2 separate regions of the Homo sapiens genome follow, and region 1 is linked to region 2. The links are contacts of gene promoters, found by promoter capture Hi-C in human tissues and cell types (Jung and others, 2019). All regions are on one chromosome and are shown on one strand. Each heading gives the region's core, a stretch centred on a gene start or on the middle of the fragment in contact. The rest is flanking DNA. Distances are from core to core; before and after follow the strand shown.

Region 1 (2,723 bases), core at 138-2,637, 220 kb before region 2:
CACAGTCTCGCTGTGCTGCCTAGGCTGGTCTTGAACTCCTGGGCTCAAGTGATCCTCTTGCCTAAGTCTCCCAAAGCACTGGGATTACAGGCATAAGCCACCATGCCTGGCCTGTTTTATTTTTATTTATTTATTTATAATTTTTATATGTGTGTGTGTGTGTGTGTGTGTGTGTGTGTGTGTGTGTGTGTGTGTGTATGTATGTGTATTTGTTTTGTTTTGTTTTTGTTTTTTTGAGACAGAGTTTTGCTCTTGTTGCCCAGGCTGGAGTGCAATGGTGCGATCTCGGCTCACTGCAACCTCCGGCTCCCGGGTTCAAGCGATTTTCCTGCGTCAGCCTCCTGAGTAGCTGGGATTACAGGCACCCACCACCATGCCTGGCTAATTTTTTTTGTATTTTTAGTACAGATGGGGTTTCACCATGTTGGCCAGGCTGGTCTGGAGCTCCTGACCTCAGATGATCCACCTGCCTTGGCCTCCCAATGTGCTGGGATTACGGGTGTGAGCCACCGCGCCCGGCCGAACATTTCCTTTAGACCCTCCCCGAAAACCCCCTAGACTCATTACCAGAGTCTCTACCTGTTTTTCCCTCAGCCTCTGGCAACCACAAAGCTCCTTCTTGTCTCTGTGAATTTGCCTGTTCTGGAAAGAGTTTGCTTGTTTTTTTAATCATGCTTCCGGGTCAATCTGGTGCTACATCTGGGAGCCACTGGCCCAGAGGCATCCTGAAGTCCCCCGTCTGCCGCAATGGGGTCCTGGGGCTGGCTAGCCACGGAGCCAGGGGATGCTCTTGTCTCCCTGTGGAGCATGGGCCTCGGTGGCTGAGTGTGCAGTGGGTCCACCACTCCTCGTGGCGAATCTGTCCCTTCTCCGGTGGTGTCCCAGCTCTGCAGCAGTGGCACATGGGAGCAGTGGGCGGAGACACCAGGACTCACCACTGCAACGAGAGTGGAGAAGACCAGCTGCACCACCAGGCTTGGCGCCAGCCTCGAGGGGCAGTGGCGGTGCAGCTCCCTGGGCCAGTGGCCTTAGTTGGGGAGGAGGCAGCTTGCTTGGGGCCAGGACTGAGTGGGGTGCGTTCTGGCAGGTGCCCGTGAACTTGGAGGACGTGGCTGTATACCTTTCTGGGGAGGAGCCAAGATGCATGGACCCAGCTCAGCGGGACGCGCCGCTGGAGAATGAAGGTAACTTGCAAGTGATTGTGTCCTCTAGGGGGCTTGCCAAAAATAGGAACTGTCAGGCACCAGCTCCGGGGCTTGGTTCTGTTGGTCCAGTTGGCCTGGGGCGATCCTCCGTGGACAGGGCTACCCGTATCCCTGCAGAGTCCCACCTGCAGGGCCTGCACAGCCACTCGGCCGTGACTCAGGCAGATGCCCAGCACTGCCTTGCCATCCTGTTCTTCTGCCTCTGCCCCCTACATGCTGGTCCTACTTCACTTCAGCTTCCCTGTGCCCTCCTCTCAAGGGCAGAGCTGCTCCCACAGGACCTGGTTCTCCAGCCTCTCCCCATCACACTGAGCACTGCCCTGCCTGTTACCCAGCACCGTCCCCTAAGCTCTTTCTCTGTCCGTTTGTCTCTTCCTGCCTTTCCTGATGCTGCTGAAGCCTTTTCTGGTTTTTTGTTTGCTTGTTTGTTTTGAGATGGATTTTTGCTCTGTTGCCCAGGCTGGAGTGCAGTGGCACAACCTTGGCTCACTGCAACCTCCACCTCCTGGGTTCAAGCGATGCTCCCACCTCAGCCTCCCAAGTAGCTGGGATTACAGGTACTCGCCATCATGCCTGGCTAATTTTTGTTTTATTAGTAGAGATGGGTTTCATCACCATGTTGGCCAGGCTGGTCTCGAAGTCCTGACTTCAGGTGATCCGCTGGCCTAGGCCTCCCAAAGTGCTGGGATGACAGGTGTGAGCCACCGTGCGTGGCCATGCTGAAGCCTTTTCTAATGACAGTGAGATATCGCTTTGTATTAGGGTTCTTCTCCAGAGAAACAGAACCAACAGAAGATACACACACACACAGATTTATTTTAAGGAATGGGTACTTAGACAGCTCCCTTGGTTGCTTACAGAAGTTGACAAGTCTGAAATCTGCAGGCCAGGCCAGCAGACTGGAAGCTTAGGATTTCTGTGCCACGGTCTTGAGGCAGACTTCCTTCTTTGGGAAACCTCCAGAATTTTTTTCCTTTTTAAGGCTGAAGAATATTCCATTGTAAATAATGCTGCAGTGAACGTGGGTGTACAAGTGTATCTCTGATCAACTCTGCTTTCCGTTCCTGGGTGGATGTATCCAGCAGTGGGATGGCTGGAGCATATGTGGTCATTCTGTGTTGAATTTTTTGAGGAGCCGCCATGCTGTTTTCCACAGCATCTGCACCATCTCATGCACCCAGCAAGAGTGCACAAGGGTTCCAGTTTCTCCACATCCATACCAATGGTTGTTATTTTCAGGGTTTTTTTTTTTTTTTGAGATGAAGTCTTGCTCTGTTGCCCAGGCTGGAGTGGAGTGGCACGATCTCAGCTCAGCTCACTGCAACCTCCGCCTTCCAGGTTCAAGCGATTCTCCTGCCTCAGCCTCCCAAAGTAGCTGGGATTACAGGTGTGTGCCACCATACCCGGCTAATTTTTCTATTTTTAGTAGAGCTGGGTTTTGCCATGTTGGCCAAGCTGGTCTCGAATTCCTGATCTCAAGTGATCTGCCTGCCTCAGCCTCCCTAAGTGCTGGGATTA
Region 2 (2,775 bases), core at 132-2,631:
ACCTGAGCAAGTAGCCACCCAGTGGGTTCTTCTTCCTGGCTGCCCAGATAGAGCCAATGTATCAAGACAGGGGAACTGCAATAGAGAAAGAGTTTAATCCACACAGAGCTGGCTGAATGGGAGACCAAAGTTTCATTACTCAAATCAGTCTCCCTGGAAATTCAGAGCCTAGAGTTTTTAAAGGGTAATTTGGTAGATAAGCTGCCAAGGAGTAGGGAGTGCTGATTGGTGGGGTGGGAGATGAAATCACAGGGTGTTGAAGGATGCAAGAACTGGTTGAGTCAGATTACAGCTCTAGGTGGCCTTGGCTGGTGCATCAGACTGCAGGGTCAGAAAAACACCTAAGAGTACCAATCTTAGGTTTTACAATAGTGATATTATACCTAGGATCAACTGGGGAGGTTTAGAATCTTGTGGCCTCTGGGTGCATGACTCCTAAACCGTAATTTCTTTCTTTCTTTCTTTTTTTGAGATGGAGTCTCAGTCTCTTGCTCAGGCTGGAGTGCAGAGGCATAATCTCAGCTCACTGCAACCTCCATCTCTCGGGTTCAAGCAATTTTTGGGCTTCAGCCTCCCTAGTAGTTGGGATTACAGGTGCGTGCCACCATACCCGGCTAATTTTTGTATTTTTAAATAGAGACATGGTTTCACCATGTTGGCCAGGCTGGTCTCAAACTCCTGACCTCAAGTGATCCACCTGCGTCAGCCTTCCAAAGTGCTGGGATTACAGGCGTTAGCCACTGAGCTGGGCCCTAAACTATAATGTCTAATCTTGTAGCTAACGTGTTACTCTTACAAAGGAAGCCTGGTTCTCAGGCAACAAGGGGGTTTGTTTTGGGAAAGGGCTGTTAACTATCTTTGTTTCAATATTAAACTATAAACTAAGTTGCTCCCAAAGTTAGTTCTGCCTATGCCTAGGAATGAACAAGGACAACCTGGAGGTTAGAAGCAAGATGGAGTGGGTTAGGTCAGCTCTCTTTCACTGTCATAATTTTCTGTTGTAATTTTTGCAAAGGCAGTTTCAAGCGCAGGGACAGTGACCGTGTGGTTCAAGGTTTTATGTAATGCACCTCCCAAACTCAATAAATATTAGTCGCATAAAAGAAAAAATGCAGCCCTGGAGGAAGATGCCCTGCCCTGTTGCTGGCATGAGTGAAGAGGAGGCGCTCACAGGGACGGTTCTTTCCCTATTCTCCAGCCTCGTGTACATTGGGCAAACAGGCCCCGACCATCCCACGTGCTCAGCCCCAGCTCTAGGCCAAATCGCCTCCGCTCCCACTGACGTCATCACGGCGCATCACGTGCCTCCCGAGACCCCACCCCCCACCGTGACGTCCCGGGCCTCGGCCCTGGTCCAAAGTCTACCCGCCTCCTTGTGACAGAAGTGCGACTGCCAGCTGCCGAGGCGTTCGGTCCTGCTGTTGCGGCCGCTGCCCCAGGGCTGCGGGGACGGTGAGTCGACTGGACGCATTCGGAGACGGCTTCGCGCGGGAGCCCTCCTCCCCGGGGGAAGGGTCTGGGCGCCAGCTCTCCTCAGGTCGGGGCGTGACCTCGGACCGTGGCGCCCCCTCCCCGCCCCCGCCCGCGGCGCCTGGGCGGTGCATGCCGGGCACCGTAGTCCCCAGCCTCTCAGAGCGGGTTGTGGTGGGGGGGGTGACCGGGCGGACTACAAGTCCTAGAAGCCTCTGGGCGGTGGGGTGGGCGGTGGGTTGGGGGGTTTCGTTGTGCGCGCAAAGCCGCGCGGGGCTGAGGGTCTTGTTCTGCCGGCGCCTGTCCGGACCCGGGCCCCTCTCCGCTTTCGGCCGGCCTCGGGCACCGGGCTTCTGGAGGTAAAGCGGGGCCGGCGGTTGGGGCGCGGCATGGCGGGGCCCGTCCTCCCCTCAGGGCGCTGCCGAGACCTAGCGCGGCCCTGGGGATGTCGAAGCCGCTGCGGTGGCGGGGCCCGGGCGGGCGCCCCGCTGTGTGCCGCGGGGTTGTGCGCCCGGAATGGCAGCCTGCTCGCCCGCACGTTTTTCCGTCAGGGAAGGTTGTGGAAATTGCCATCTCCGTCTTGCAGGGCGAGACGGGGAGGGGAGGGGTGGGAGTTGTTTTCTCAAGGAAAGGGGGTCGAGGAGGAGCCCCGTGGCCGAGCCAGCCCCTGCCGAGCCCCGCGGGTGACCTTGGCCGTCCCGGAGCCCAGCAGTGTCCTGCACCCGCGCCCGGCTCGCCGACGTGTGGAGTCGGGATGTGGCGCTCGGCCGCGCATCCCCGGCGGAGATGGCGACGGCCTGGCCTAGCTTGGGGCTAGGAGTCGCGCCTTCGAGGACCTTGGCTTAGCGAGTTCCTTGGGGGGCTTCTCAACAGGTGTTAGATGAGGTGGGGCGAGTGGCTGTGAGTTCCTCCAAAGGTGGGCTCAAGATCCTCTGCGTCAGAACCACCTGGGGCTCTTGGGAAACGGGCAGATTCCTGGGGCCCACCCCAGGTGTTGGGATGCTGTAGTTCCGTCGCGCTGCCCAGGAATCTGCATTTAGTAGGCTCCCCAGATCATTCCCGGGCGCAGCTGGGGCTGAGAACCTGTCCCAGTGAGGGGGTTGGCGGGCCCGGGGGCAGGGACGTTCCATAGTGTTTCTGCCAGTTTCTTCTGTATTCTGGGGCCTGATGCTGGGCGGGGCGGTGCCCGGGCAAGTTACTGCTCTCCTGGGTTCTTTGCTGCTTCCCTTGGGGCCGATCTAGGTAGAACTGGGTGGAGGGAGGCGTGCCAGCTCTGCCTTGCCCTCTGCCCTTAATCGGAAAGGT

The links. The method cuts DNA at HindIII sites, captures the fragments that hold promoters and counts their contacts. A contact is called where the count stands out against the background at its distance.
Region 1: a fragment that was not itself captured here is called in contact with the fragment with the promoter of CDIP1 in region 2 in 1 of the 25 tissues and cell types used here (dorsolateral prefrontal cortex).

The regions. Positions count from the first base shown.
Region 1 is chr16:4,758,953-4,761,675 of GRCh38, reverse strand. It overlaps ZNF500 (zinc finger protein 500), which reads left to right. Exons shown (of 6, transcript NM_021646.4): 5 at 1,088-1,184. Among named protein-coding and RNA genes, the nearest start is that of ZNF500, 6.8 kb to the left of the region's middle. The HindIII fragment of the contact is 5,964 bases long and covers 1-2,723 here.
Region 2 is chr16:4,537,379-4,540,153 of GRCh38, reverse strand. It overlaps CDIP1 (cell death inducing p53 target 1), which reads left to right and starts at 1,381. Exons shown (of 6, transcript NM_013399.3): 1 at 1,381-1,452. It also overlaps a transcript of C16orf96 not described here. RefSeq lists silencers at 1,465-1,754, 1,765-1,984. The HindIII fragment of the contact is 9,452 bases long and covers 1-2,775 here.